2 separate regions of the Homo sapiens genome follow, and region 2 is linked to region 1. Evidence: promoter capture Hi-C in human tissues and cell types (Jung and others, 2019). All regions are on one chromosome and are shown on one strand. Each heading gives the region's core, a stretch centred on a gene start or on the middle of the fragment in contact. The rest is flanking DNA. Distances are from core to core; before and after follow the strand shown. Region 1 holds the start of CSMD2 (CUB and Sushi multiple domains 2). Region 2 overlaps CSMD2 (CUB and Sushi multiple domains 2).

Region 1 (7,353 bases), core at 2,188-4,687:
GATAGGTCAATAGGGCCAAGAAGGCTTCTTGGCTTGTTTTGTGGTAAAGATGAGCCTGTTCACAGGTCAAAGGGAAATGTGTTTTAAGAAGGGAGGGTGGCCAGGTGCGGTGGATCACGCCTGTAATCCCAGCACTTTGGGAGGGCAAGGTGGGCAGATCATGAGGTCAGGAGTTCGAGACCAGCCTGACCAACATGGAGAAACCCCCCTTCTCTATTAAAAATACAAAATTAGCTGGGCATGGTGGCATGCGCCTGTAATCACAGCTACTCAGGAGGCTGAGGCAGGAGAATCACTTGAACCCGGGAGGCAGAGGTTGCAGCAAGCCGAGATTGCGCCATTGCACTCCAGCCTGGACAACAAAAGAGTGAAACTCCCTCTCAAAAAAAAAAAAAAAAAAAAGGGAGGATGATTGATAGGGACAGCAGGTAATTGGTGGGAAGTCTCCAGGGAGGCTGGGGTGGGGAGGGGGAGGGGGAGTGCAAGGCAGGACAAGGACTAAAGGGGTTGAGGGGAGAAGGTATGGGTGGGTGAGGAGACTCCCCTTTTTCAAACTATTTTATTCATTTATCCAGTGATCACTGAGCCGAGGAAGGGAGACGGTTCAGTCCTGAGCATCTTTTAAATTCAACAGTGTGAACTGAACACAAAATGAATGTGTTTCCCCTTCTAATGTACCAAATCCTGCCGATCTTCTGTCACCAAGTCCATTTCCAAATCTCTGCTGCCTGCAAGGCCAAACAGCCCATCTAAAGGCGGGAAAGGCTTAAAAAGAAATGTACTGGGCTGGGCGCGGTGGCTCACATCTGTAAGCCCAGCACTTTGGGAGGCAGAGGCAGGCGGATCACCTGAAGTCAGGAGCTCGAGACCAGCCTGGCCAACATGGTGAAACCCCATCTCTCCTAAAAATACAAAAATTAACCGGGCGTGGTGACGGTCGCCTGTAATCCCAGCTACTCGGAAGACTGAGGCAGGAGAATCGCTTGAACCCAGGAGGCGGAGGTTGCAGTGAGCTGAGACCGCGCCATTGCACTCCAGCCTGGGCGAGAAGAGCAAAACTCCGTCTTAAAAAAAATTTAAAAAGAAAGAGAAGAAAAGAAAAGAAATGTACTGGAAGCTTGCAAGCCAGAGCAGGGCCTGCCGGAGAGGAACTACCCCAAGCCATGAACACAAGGCCCCCTCCCCGCAACTTCTCTACTGAGCAAGGAGCTGCGAGCAAATGGATCTCTATAGGGCAGGATTCCAGCACCGCTGAGCGGTGCAAGCGCCGGTGAGTCGGCCTTTTTCTCTCCCCTAGGGGCAGGATATGCCCAAGGGGCAGGGACAAATCTAGCCAGAAAAACAATTCAGTCCGATGCCGAGACATTCTCCAATCAGCTAAGCCAGAGACCGGCCTCGCCTCAACGTACGTCCGGGAGGCCTGGCGGGAGGTAGCAGCGATTCCCCCACCGCCCATGTGGCAAGTCTGGGTGACCAGCAGCGTCGGTATGCACAGCCTCCCAGTGGGTGTGGGTGTGCGAGAGGCCAGAGCTCCCAGGCGCGCGCACCGCGGGCGCCCCTCTCTGGGTGTCGGTGGCTATGACTCTTAGCAGAACCTAAGAAAGTCCCGTCAGCTAGGAATGAGAGAGCCAGAGCTGGCTCGGGGCGCCCTCCCTGACCAAGAACCCCAACATGCCGCGGTTAAGCGGTGGGCGACACGGTCTGCGAGGACAGACTCACAAGACGCTGAAGGCCAGAGTGGGCCAGAGAGCTCGCCACTCACTGACCTGCCAGAGGAGAGGCGCACTTTCCCAAGAAGGGGAACTGGGGTGGTCCAGGCCAAGCCTTCAGAGGTTCAATCGGTGGTTTCAAAACAAAACAAAACAAAACAAAAACAAAAACAAAAAAGAAAACACGGCTCCAGGTCGAAGGTGCCCTAGGTCTAGGCCTGGCCAGCAGGTGTTTCGGTTTCTCCCCCAGTGGGTGTCAGCCTCGCGGGCTAAATGAAAATGCGGTTCCAGGCATCCCGGTTTGGACCCGTCTCCACCCGGGCACACGGAACTTTCTAGCTTGTAGCTAGAACTGAGCTTCGGAGGGGTGCTGTGGGTAAAGCGGGAGGGCACCAGTCGCGGCCAGTAGCCTCCACAGGGGACCGGGTTCCCTCGAAGGTTCGCGTACCTCCCCCGCGCGCTGCAAGCTGCAGCCAGACACCCGCGAAGTTCCGGGACTCTCCGCACCCGCTAGATCTGCCCCTTCCCGGACTCGGTCGTCGGGAGCTGGTCCCGCCGCCCGCGCCGCCGCTGCCGCTGCCGCAGCCGAGGCGCTCGGCTGCAGCAGGGCGCGGGAAAGGGCACTTTGGCGCGGAGTGAGCACCGAGGGGAATGTGGCAGCGCGAAGCCTGGCGGCGGCACTCCCTCCCCCGCCTCGGGCTACAACCCCCACCCCCTCCTTCCCATCCCTCAACACCCTCCAGCCCCCACCTGCACCCTCCTGCAAGGAATGCGCGGGACCCCCACCGTGGGCACGCGTCCACCTGAACCCCCTCCTAGCTCCGAGCGCCGAGGGAGGGGTAGCATTTGAGGAGGGGGATGGCGGCCGCAGTCTGCAGTCGGTTCCAGAGGGGGCACCGGTTTCAATTGGAGAAAATGGGCGGGGGCAGGGAAGGGCAGACCTTGCAGACGCAGAAATGGGGAGGGGGCGCACGGTTCCTCTCCAGCCCCCAGGACCAGCGTGCCTGGCAGAATCAGGAGCCGGGGGAGTAGGGCTCCCGGAAAGTTTATCGGGAAAAAGCCTAGCACCGTGGGGGCTGGGAGGCTGGAGAAACTGAAGCCACAGACCAGGTGCCCCGCAACCCCGGGCGGGGATGTCTGTCTCCCAGGCCCCCACACCGGCCGCATCCGTCCAAGTTGCGGCTGGGGTTGGGGCAGCAGTGAGGGTGAGGGTGGAGGTGAGGACGTGGCTGAGGGTGGGGTGGGAGACGGAGGCAGGGATGAGAATGAGAGTAGGCAACTGGGAGGGTGGGAGATTCAGGCAGGGATAGAGGCGGGGGGAGGGACTGGGACCGGGTCGAGGATGGGTGGGCTCGGGGCTCGGGTGGGGCGCGCGGCGGCCGCTGGCTCCTCGGCGCGGCTGGACTCACCCGCGGCGGCCGAGACGCTGAGCAACCCACAGCCCAGCAACAGCAGCAGAGGCGGCGGCGTTGGCGGCGGCGGGCGGCCCCAGCGGCTCCCGGCGCCCGGCACAAGCGCCGAAATCCCGGTTTCGCCGCGAGCCCTCCCCGCGGGGCAGCCGCAGCGCCCCAGCTCCCGTCCCCGCGAGCGCGGCATGGCGCGGCCGGCAGCGCCGAGGGAGAGGCTCCGCTCGCCGCCGAGGAGAAAGGAGGTCAGGAGAGCTCTGGAGCTTTTTTCTGCTCGGAAAAAATCCCGGTACGCGGGAGCCCTGAGCTTCTGCGGCTGGAATGAACCAAGTGTCCGCCCGGCCGGGGAGAGGCGCGCTGCGCTCTCGGAAATGACTCGCTCCAATCCCGCTTCGCGGGGTTCGCGCCGGGGGGCGGGAGGGGGTGAATTATCCCCGGATTAATCACTCCGGAGCCGCTTCTCCGCCGCTCCAAATGCTGGGGGTGGAGGCGCAGCTAAGGATAAAATATTGGGGGGCGGGGGTTCCTCTTCAGCGCCACCTCCACCTCCAGATAAACCACAAATTACATCTAAAGGGTTGTTTATCCGTGTCTGTTTTGCAATTGACCAGTTTCTTTTAAGTTCAGTCCTCCTGTTTTCATTTATAACATCACCCATTAATACACCCCCCTCTCCACACACACACACACAAACACACACACACACACACAGTGACAGAGACACACGCACTCACACACACAGGCACATACACGCACACCTCTTCCACGTTTGGAAATTGGAATCCTGTCTGGGAAAAGGTAACCAAAGAAGGACGCGTTCCCCAAGTCTTGGCTCTTACCAGCTGATCTTGGGTGGTGGCTTTGAACTTGCCATCTAGGGCCGGGGGCGATGCTTATGAGCCTCATTCACAATAGCCTCCTACCCCATCCCAGGAGAGGGGCGTGTGTGCGTAGACAGAGGCAGGGTTAAGAATTGGAGGGCGGTGGAGGGGGGTTGTGTGTGGGGTGGGGAGGGGGGGGAACCGGTTCATTTGACCCAGTGCGGTCCCACTCCTACCCTAAGACAAAAATCTCAGGGTGGCAGAGGCGGTCCCTGTGTGCACGCGAGTTGGGGGTGGGGAGTGAGGTTGGTGGAAGGACGGTGCAAGAGTTACTAGTACAATTTATCCCCAAATTTAAATAATCGGATCCTACTTCTTCTTCTCCCCTTCCTCCTCCCAGCCAAGGCCCCAAACCAAGAGAGTTCTTCCCAAGGACGTGAGCTGCTCCCCACCTCTCCCCAGTAGCGGCTGCCTCTAGGCCCCAAGGGCTTAGTGTCGGTCCCCACCCCATCCCCCACCCGACTCGGTCGCCGTCTCTGTCTCGTCTACTCCAGGCTTCTCCGCCAGTCACGATGGCTCCTTCGCTGTCTACGCCAAACTCTCGGCGAGAGGGAAGAGACGCTTCATGGGGGGAGGCTGGAGGAAACTGGGAGGGGCAAGGTCCAGAGAGGAGGCTTCTGCTGGCGCGTGCAGTGGAAAGGCACCTGCGATGGGCACCCCCGCCCCCTTTGCCGACACACCCCAGAGAAGCTGTGCTCCGGGCTTAGGGCAGCCTGATTTGGCCAAAACGGAGCGTTGGCATCTGTGTGGCCAAGGGGGCAGTGGCCGGCGGGCGGTGGGGCCTGAGAATTTCCGGGGAAGGGTGTGGAGAGGGACTGTAGGGATGGCGAGCCAGGCTGGGGGTGGCTGGCGACCCAGGTTGGCCGGCTGTCAGCGTGGCCAGGAATTTCCATCCAAGGAAGGGTGTGAAGAGGGGCTGTGGAGTTGACGATATGAATTGGGGGGCGGGGGCAGGGCTGGAGGAGTGGAGGCTTGTCCCTACTCCCCATGAAAAACTTCCTCCCCAGAGCCACGCTTTCGCAGCCTCCTAGATGCCACTCTTCCTCCCTCCCCCCACCCCAAGTTGTTCCGGTTTCCCTGCATGAGCTCATCCCACAGCTGGGGAGCCAGCCCGGTGGCCCTGGGCGGGCGAATCTCCTCAGAATCGCGGGCCTGGTCCCCACCCCCAACACGCTTGTATGCCCGCCCCTCCCGACGCCGCCTTGCTGGGTGCCAAGAACCAACCGAAGCAGCCAGAACTCCTCAGTGAAAGGCCTGCTTTATGTTCCCGGGGCAGTGAGGAGGGGGCTTCTCCCTTCCCATTGTCCAGACTCAGCCCCCGAAAGAGAGGGCTCAGCCTTCCCACCAGCCCTGGAGAGGAGGAAGGGACTGACTACGCCAGCAGTGAGTGGTGGTGGTGGCCTTGGGGGCTGTTAGCTGGGCTTGCCTGGGGGTGGGCTCCTGGCTTCTAAGCTCCGACTTTACCCCTCTCTTGGAGGCGGGGTTCTCCTCCAGAGAAAGGAACTGGCAGAGATGCCCAGGCCTCCTGTGCAGCCCACAGCTGGGCAGAAGAGAGTCTGGGCTGCTCTGTAATTCTGGGGCTGCAGGCCAATGGGCTTTCTCTTACCCTCTTCTCAGCTCCAGAACTTTGCTCTGTGGCTGCAACGGGCAGATGAGATTTACCCCCAGAACTTTCCCGGGCAAAAGGAGCGTTTGTCATCCTTCTCCCTGGGGGCTGTGGAGGGCAGGGCACCTATTTTATCCCTGCAAAAGGCCCAGTTACTCACATCCTCCGCCATTCCTGCTCTCTGATCTATTTGGGTCCACGTGCTTTCACTGAGCGCCTCCTGTGCTCGGGGGCCCTGAGCGAGGCTGTGCTCTGGGCCCTGCAGAGATGCACAGTGTGTGGTCCTGCTTTGGGAGGATGCAGGCCAGAGGTGGAAACCCACACGTAACTGATACCGTCAGACAGCGATAATCACCATGACTGAAGAACCGGCATGCTACCGAGAGGCATGTCAAGACAGTGAGCTTTTCCTGGACTTGGGGGATCAGAAGGCTAATTTAAGAAGGAAAGTAGGATTTGGTCTGGAACCTGAGACATGGATAAAGACCTTGAAAAGATGAAGATTCATTTACTCAACAAATATTTATTGAGCATCATTATGTGCCTGGGTGCTGTGCTAGACAATGAATATACACCTAGTGCACAGTCCCTGACTTGATGAAGGCAGAAAATATGTATACAAATACACATAAAGTTACTAATTAAGGATGCTACAAAAGGAAAGTTTATGGTGCTAGGAGAAACAATATGGGGATGTGCTTTAAGGAGATGGTCTGAGAAGGCCTCTCTGAGATGGCAACGGTGGAAGATGGGATCTAAAATTAAGCAAGATGCTCAGGAGGCTAAAGCCAGAGGATCATTTGAGCCCAGCTGTTCAAGGCTGCAGTGAGCCATGATCACACCACTGCACTCCAGCCTGGGTGACAGAGCCAGACTATCTGTCTATGAATTAATTAATTAATTAATTAATATAATAATAGAATTAAGCAAGGCAGCCATGCAAAGTTGGGGAAAGAGCTTTTGGTATAGTGAGCACAGGCAAGGCTGTAAAAAGGAAAGGGGGCCAGGAGGAGGAGGATGGGGCTGGATCCAGGTAAGCAATGGGAGATAGGGAGTGGGGCAGATCACATAGGGTCTATTAGGGGATGGCGAGGAGTTTGCATTTTATTCTTAGCCAGTGAGAAATAGAAGGTGTATTAATTTGCTAGGACTGCTGCCACAACAAAGTACCATAGACCCTGTGGCTTAAAAAACAGAAATGTATTGCCTCACAATTCTGGAGGCTGGAAGTCCAAGATCAAGAGGTCGACACAGTTGGTTCCCTCTGAGGCTTCTCTCTCTGGCTTGTAGATGGCTGCCTTCTTCTCCCTGTGTCCTCACATGTGTTCCCATGGTACATATCTGTGTCCAAACTTCTAATCAGGACACCAGTCATACTGGATTAAGGCCCAACCCAATGACCTCATTTTGACTTAACTGACTTTTTAAAGACTCTACCTCCAAATAAGGTCACATCCTGAAGTACTAGGGGTTCGGACTTCAACCTATGAATTTGGGTGGGGGGGCACACAATTCATTCTATAACAGGAGGAGATGACTTTTCAGATGGAGGGAGGAGAGAGATGCTTGACAGTCAGAAAATATATGTAAAGAGATATCTGTTTACATTTATTTTCTGTGTATAGCATGGCTCCTTTAGTGAAAAGTAGACAGCTCTGAATATGAAAGGTAGGTTTTCATTTCTGGGAAAGAGACGCCAAGTGATGTGGCCTGACATATACTCTAACTTCTCTGTGAGGAAAGGGTAAGAA
Region 2 (7,353 bases), core at 3,278-5,777, 540 kb before region 1:
ATAGCAGTTAATTCTCTATTGTCTGTGAGCTCTTTGTAGATTATCCTACAAAATAAAATATAACTACAGGGCCCTGGCTCCTAGGAATTCCAGTCTCCAAATACCAGTGGGAAGCTCTGTTTCTCCGTAGCTCTTCCCATCATGAGGGGACAACACATGAAATGTCAGCTACTGGGAAAACTGCCAGTCCCCTTGGACGAAGAAAATTGAGAAGAGGTGGATTTTTTTCCTGGGAATGAGGCAGTAGAATGGCAAAGTGATTTACAAAGAAAATGTATCTTTGGAAGAAGAAAGAACAGAGAAGATTCTAGGGAACATTTAAGAGCTCAAAATATTGGATAGAGAAAACTGGAGAGAACAGAGAAGAAGGGATGAAAGGAAAAAAATGTGATTTAGTCGAGAAACCCAGGATATTTCACTCCACCAGGGGAGTGAAGCCTTACATATCTGCTGGAAGGAGTCTCAGAGGTCCCTGTCCTACCCTTTACCCTGCAGGGTCTGCTTCTAGCTGTCCTGGGTCTTTTTTTTTTTTTTTTTTTTTTTTCCAGGTGCATGCTTCAGTTCTTTCAGGTGATGAGCATCCTGGGACCTGTTTAATTCTTTCTGAAGCAGCTGGATGAAGTTCATTTGTTTCACAGACCCAGATGGGCATGTGCATAACACAGTTCTGACCCAATCAGACATCTAGCACCCAGTGGGCCTTCTTTCTGCACAGGCCCATGCTGTCGCAGATGGTCTAGCCAACCATGCCTTCCTGCATTTTTCACTTCTCATTGCAAACTTAACTCAGGCATCCCCTTCTGCAAGGCCTTACATGGCTAGCTTTAGCTCCTTTCCTTTGTACTTTCTTAGCATCTCTCCTTTCCTCTGCACTTTCTTAGGTTTCACTAAAATGACTGTGCCCATGTCCATCTCTCCTTCTAGATTTTGTGCTTTTGAAGGCAGGGGCCTTGTCTTATTGACCTTTGTACTGCGGGGACCTAACACAGGGCGGGGCACATTGCAGGTGCTCAATGTTTCTTCACAACATTTGCATCTCCACCCGCCCACAACCATTCTCTCCCTTGAACCATTTCTCTACCATCTAGAGCCATCCATGAGAGCACCTGTAATGCTGTCATGCACCTCTCTGTCTATGTGTCTACCTCTCTTTAGTGGACTTTGACTGACCCATCTTAATCTTTCCCAATCGTGGCAAAACCCAGCACAGTGCCTGGCATGTTGTAAATGCTCAATAAATATTTGCCGAATAAAAGTGTAAAAAATGCTGCTGCCTACCTATTCTTTCCTGTACCCAGTGGAGAAAGGGGGTAGGGCAGGCAGTCCCAGTATGCAAGCAGTTTCCCTAGAAACCTCTTTCTTTGTTCCCCAGAAGGCACATCCACAAATCTTTCTCTGTGAAGAGTATTTGGTAGTGACCACTTAGGGATGCCAGAAGCCAGGATATAAGGGTTTGAGCCTGCAGTGAGAAATCTGGTAGAAGATGAGTGAGGTAGCCAATGAAAGGAGGAACTTCAAAAATAATCGCATCATAGAACTAGGGGTTAGAAAGGCCAGGTTTTAGACCTGGGGGAGGAAAGCACAATTTTCTTACATCCCAATTATATACTGGGACCTTGGCCAATGCAAGTCCCCTTCCCATTCCTGGTGTGGATACTGAACAGGCATACAGGTTTTCGAGTAACAGACACTTGGACGAGAACACAGCCTTGAGGAGGTTTCAGACCTTCTCTGGGCTTTAGCATCTTCACCTAGGTTTGTGGGAAGGCTTAAGTGGGATGGACAATATGCAGCTCCAGTTTAATCCTTGCTCAGAAGGGGCTCAGCAACTTTTAGGTCCCACCCTGAACCCTGTACCAGCCAAGACCCTGGATTCTCACTTTTGTACTCCAAGTGGAAGCCAGCTGCAGATACGCTGATATCTGAGTAGAAATGAAGGTAGAGCTGGTTGGAGGTGCTGTTCAGAAGGGCAGGCACGGTTGTTCCTAGGGCAAGGACACCAGGGAAAACCATTTAAGTTTGGCTCCTCCAGGCCCTTGCATTCCTCCCCATTCCTCTGGATTTTGCTACCTGCTGACATTCTGCTCCCAAGGCCCCCAGATGTCCCCAGTTATGAAACTCACTAAATGACAAATTAGCACTCCTCAGAGGGCTAGGTCTCTACTGGCTGAGGGAGGGGAAACTCCAATCTGCTTCCTGTAAGATGAGCAGTGGCAGAGCCATGTGCCCGCAGGAGGGTGAGGGATGAGTTGGGTCTCCTCATAGCCATCTTCAGGATAACTCTGACCTGTATTATTCTCTGGGCAGTCCTGCAGTGTGGACAGTTTATCTGAAGCATGTGACTCCTCTTTATCTCTTGGCCACCTAGAGTTCTGGGCCTAAAAGATTCAGATAATTGCCCTGGCCACTGGGCACACCTATACACCACACTCAGTCAGAAGTCCATTACTAGAATGGCAAAATGGTGTTGCCACTTTGGAAAACAGGAAGTTCCTCCAAAAGTTAAACATAGAGTTCCCACATGACCCAGCAATTCCACTCCTAGGTATATACTCAAGAGAAGTGACAATGTGTGTTCACACCAAGACTTGTGCATGAGCATTATTCATAACAGCACAAAAGTGGAAACAAGCCATTGACTGATGAATGGACACACAAAATATGCTCTGTCCTTACAATGAAGTGCTGAACCATACTGTGACTGGGGGAACTTTGAAAACATCACGTTAAGTGAAAGAAGCCAAACACAGAAGGCTTCCATTTATATGAAATGCCTGGAATAGGCAAATCCAGAGAGATAGAAAGTAGATTACTGGTTACTAGAGGCTAGGTGTGGGCTGGGGAGGGGAGTGCAAATGGGTACCTGGTTTATTTTGGGGTGGTCAAAATGTTCTGGGATTAGATAGTAGTGATGGTTGCAGGACCTTTCGAATCTCCTGAAAACCACTGATGTGTCCACTTGAAAATGGTGAATTTCATGGAATATAAGTGATATCTCAATAATAATAATGATAATAACAATGTTCATGATGATGAGCTCTAGTACTACCCTCCAAATTGAAGCCCCTGGAAACCCAGCTTACCTGAGAAACTCCCCAGCATGGTTACAGTGTTATCTGCACCATCAAATACTTCCAGCGAGTCCCAGTTCTGCTCTGTCACAAAACTGACAACTTGGATCTGGGAAGGGAGAAGAGTGAATTGTTGGTTAGGCAGCCTGCGTCCCTCCCTCCTTCTCTGCTTTCCCTTTCTGCCCTTCCCGTAGTTAATTCAATTTGTTGAGAATCTACTCTGGGCCTAACACTGTGCTAGTCCCTTTCAATAAAAGTAAGATGCAGAACCGACTCCAAGGAGCTCGTTGTCCAGTGGGGAAGACAGATGTGGAAAAAAATGATTAGAAGACAGTGGATATTTTGCAAGGCAGAGAATGGGGAAAAGAAGTTCCAGGAAGTGGAAAGACAGTCTCACTGACTGTCTCCTCATCTCTGGAATGTTCCTTGGGTTTCCCCACTTTCCTGCCTTGATTTCATCAGACGTCCTGCAGCAATGAGCCCGTAACCCACTCCTGCCCAGATCTGTCTGCTGGACTCCCAGTTTGCTGCCTCTCTGTTGGCCTTGCAGGCTCCTGACCCTCTTCCCTGCCTTGACGCCAATGCTGGGGCCTCCCTCTGCCTGGCTCTTACCCCTGGGTACCAGTTATGCCCCCAGTTCAGCTTCTACAGCTCATGCTGTGCGTGGTTCCCTAGGTGTGTGCCTGGGGGTTCTCTGTGCTTCAGCTGTGCTGGGTGCTTTGCTCTTTCTTCTCATTAGCACTGCCTCCCCTTCTAACCCTCACAATCTTAAGAAAATCTTTAGCCATTTGAGGAACAACTTCTATGAATCCTTCCCACACTTCAGATTCCAGCTCCAGGCCCATTTCTTCTTTTAGCCTCCCCTCCTGGCCATGGCCAATCAATGCCCACCTCTCCTCCTTCCTGGGTTACCCGACTCCCACCGCATGTCCCTGAAGCTCTTGGGGCCTGGAACCTGCTGTGTTTTCTGCATGGGAGCCACATCTCCACACTTGGACTGAGCCTCCTTAGCCGCAGGGGCAGGTACAGGGCTGATATGTCTCTTCCTGGCTCACCCTGACTCAGGCCTTGGCACCAGCCAGCACCTGTGGTTGTCACCTGTGAGCTGTTACCTGGGAGCAGACGGCCACCTGCCCGACCGAGGCGCCCCCTTGCCCCTACCTGGATGCCAGCGCCTTCGGGGACCACGATCTTCCACACACAGTTGAGGCTGTTGAGGTACGGCTCTGGGAAGCCAGGGGACAGGATGGTGCCCCTGCGCTCTGTGAGGTTGCCTCCACACGGCACTGGGAGGAGAGGCCATCGGGTCAGAGGCTTTGTGGCCTCCCGTGGGAGCCTTCCCAAGCTGACTCCTCCCTCATGGCCCCCAGCCTCTGTTTGTCCTCCTCCCCATGGGGGTGTCTCCCTAATGTCCCCAGTCCTGCCTTCTCCACGGCCTCTCCCCATGCAACTCTGTTCGGGGCCCTGGGCCCAGCTCCTCTCTCCACGTGTGCCCCGTCCCCAGTACACCGGCTGTCTTCACACAGCCCACAGCGCCGGGGACTGGGGTTGACTGGGACACCCCACCTCAGCCATGCGGTGGGAAGCGGCTGCTGTGTGTCGTGGGGCATCACTGGGGCTGACTGCCTCCCCTACAGAGAAAGGACTACGTGCCGCCCCCCGCACCCTCAACGCCCGGGTCCTGGTTACTCACCCACACACGTGGGCGCTGAGACATTCCATTGGGCCAAGGCCCCAGGCACAGGGAGGCACTCGATCTCTGGCGACCCCTGCAGGGCATAGCCGGAGTTGCATTCGAAGCGGACGATGGCCCCCACCGAGAAGTCACTGCCCAGCCTCTTGCCATAGCGGGGTTCCGGCACAGAGCTGCACTGCGTGGCGCTGGTTCGAGGAACCGCTGTGGGGGACAAGGGCACTGAGGGGAGGCCTCACCCCTCAGAAACTGGCCCAGGGACGGACATACAACGGGTCTGGAACAAAGACCGTCTGGATGAAACCCTGGGAGGCTCTGGATGCTCTCCCGTAGGGAAGGGCTCGAGGGCTAACTAGGAGGATGCCTGTTATACCGAATTATAGTTGGACACACAGCGCTACAGCACAGCTCCTGGAAAGCACGGGAGGTAGAGCCGTGGACCTCCCACAGACCTTAGGCCCAGTTTTGTTCTTTGCTTTCCCAACGACGCCCCTCACTCATCAGGGTCCCACGTTCCCTAGCAAGGAGAATGGGCCTTCCTCCTCTACCTTCAGGGCCTTTGCCCTGCCTCTGTCCTGTTTTCCCCATGTGCCTTAAGATCCTGCCTGGGGCCCTGCCCTCCATGACCCCCAGTCTCCCCTCCCTCCTGCCGCCCAGAATGGCTGATGGGCCCGGGATGGCCTCCCCTGTGATAGGATCACTCCTGCAAAGAGAAACACAGCTCATCCTGGGCAGAGTCGAATGAACAGGACCATGCTTAGAACCTGGGCCCTACAAAAGTGGATGTTCTCCTGGGCAAGCAGAGGTTGGGACCTGGGGGTGAAAACCAGGATGCTCCAAACTACCTTTCTGGGCCAATAAGGAAGGGAACTAACACCAACTGGCTGGTTGGTACCAGCTACTTCCCGAAGCCTCTTTGCATCCTATCAGTGAGGCATTGTGATTGCCCGCTCCTTACAGGTGAGCAAACAGGCTCTGAGGCCTGGCGTAGCTGGAGCCTAGCTCGAAGGTGGGGAGGTGGGATTCAAATCGATGTCCACGGCACTTCAAAGCCTGTGTTTTCCCCGCACCTTTACTGTGCCTGGCAGACAAAACCAAGCTCCAGGGGAGTCCAGGTAAGATGCCTGGGCTGGTCTCTTCAGTGCCATCTGGACCATGCCAGACAATGGGTGGAGTGGGGAAGGGGAAAAAACTGGCTGCCTTTGTCTGATTTCCTTCCTCATTAAACACAGAACTTGTCTAAGAAATGTCTGCTGAGTAAGTGAATGCATAAAATTAACTGGATTTCAGGGAATTGCCCTACAAACTAGTAACTGCCCCCAAACACCCTGAGAAAGGGACTCAGACTAGAGGTCAAAGATCCCTGTCCCTTCGATCACGAGTCCCTTAAGAACCGAGATCACCTTCCTACCTCCGGCGTCCATGTCCTCCATACCTTGGTAGACAAAGTGGAAGCCTCTGGCTGGTGCGAGGCCTTTGGCGCTGAACTTAATGAGAACTTGATTGGAGGTGGCCAAGGGCAGTGATTCTCCTGCCGAGATAAGGGGCAAGGAGGAGAGAACAGTGAGTCCAGCAGGTGGGCCCAGAAGATAAAATCCTGGCCAGGAAGGAGGGGCTGCCAGTACCCCATGCAGCAATTCCTTCCACATTCCAGGCCTTCCTGAAATAAAATCTCACGTATTTTTACTGCACTTTACAATTTAAAGTTTATAGAAAGCTTTTTCATTCACGGTCTTAACTTGACCTGTGGTCACTGTGAGGTTGGCATGACAGAGTTCAGTACCCTCATTTAATAAAGAAGGAAAGAGAGGTCCAGAAAGATTAAATGACCTGTGCCGGAAAGGAGAAGGCTGCTAGGGATGTGTGGAGCGACAGGGATGGAGACAGCAGCTGTTACCAAGCCGGCTGACTGGTGGTTTACTTGGAAAACTGACATCAATCTGAGTTTTTAAAAATAGCATTGGCCTCTAGGAAGGAGGATGATGTGATCATCTAGGAGCAACTGGTCTTTCCCAGACACTCTCCCACCATCCTGTGAAATGATTACCAGAGCGATGGTGTAATGTATTGTTCATACTAGAACATTTTTGAGAGTCAAAGAAAGTGCTATCAATAGTTATGGTGGGACTGTCCCAGGCAAACCAGGATGTACTATTGCCGGCCAATAACACACAAACTGGGGGGAACCTGCATGGGCACAGGAAACCAGGGTAGACTGACAGCTTTTGTAGCAGAAGACAAAGGTATATCTTCTGCTTGGTGCAGTACAGATGGGCCAGGGGAGAGACAGCACCAACTGGACCTGCAGCCAATTAGTGTAGTTGCCATTCTGGGGAAGCGCAGGGAGAACATGGGTGGAGGCAGCAGCATGGCCACTCTGCCTGCTGCCCCCCTGCAGCCTCAGGGACCCCTGAGAAGCGCTGCTGACCCCAGACCCCATTCTCAGGACGAAGCAGGGATTACAGAGAACCAGGCTCTATCTCCACTACAGTGAGGGCTAGAGTTGGGACCCACAACGGAACTACTGGGAGGTCCACCTGTACTTCCAGGAAGCTCATGTGATGCCACCAATATGGGAGCAGAGAGCTT

What was found. Contacts are between HindIII fragments. The study calls those that stand out against the background at their distance.
Region 2: a contact is called between a fragment that was not itself captured here and the fragment with the promoter of CSMD2 in region 1, in 1 of the 25 tissues and cell types used here (dorsolateral prefrontal cortex).

The regions. Positions count from the first base shown.
Region 1 is chr1:34,161,793-34,169,145 of GRCh38, forward strand. It overlaps CSMD2 (CUB and Sushi multiple domains 2), which reads right to left and starts at 3,438. Exons shown (of 71, transcript NM_001281956.2): 1 at 3,119-3,438. The coding sequence starts at 3,305. It also overlaps a transcript of C1orf94 not described here. RefSeq lists enhancers at 1,339-1,468, 1,889-1,948. The HindIII fragment of the contact is 8,389 bases long and covers 341-7,353 here.
Region 2 is chr1:33,620,287-33,627,639 of GRCh38, forward strand. CSMD2 (CUB and Sushi multiple domains 2) reads right to left here. Exons shown (of 71, transcript NM_001281956.2): 33 at 6,200-6,295; 34 at 4,765-4,968; 35 at 4,233-4,357; 36 at 3,084-3,180; 37 at 1,881-1,985. Among named protein-coding and RNA genes, the nearest start is that of ZSCAN20, 150 kb to the left of the region's middle. The HindIII fragment of the contact is 6,752 bases long and covers 1,152-7,353 here.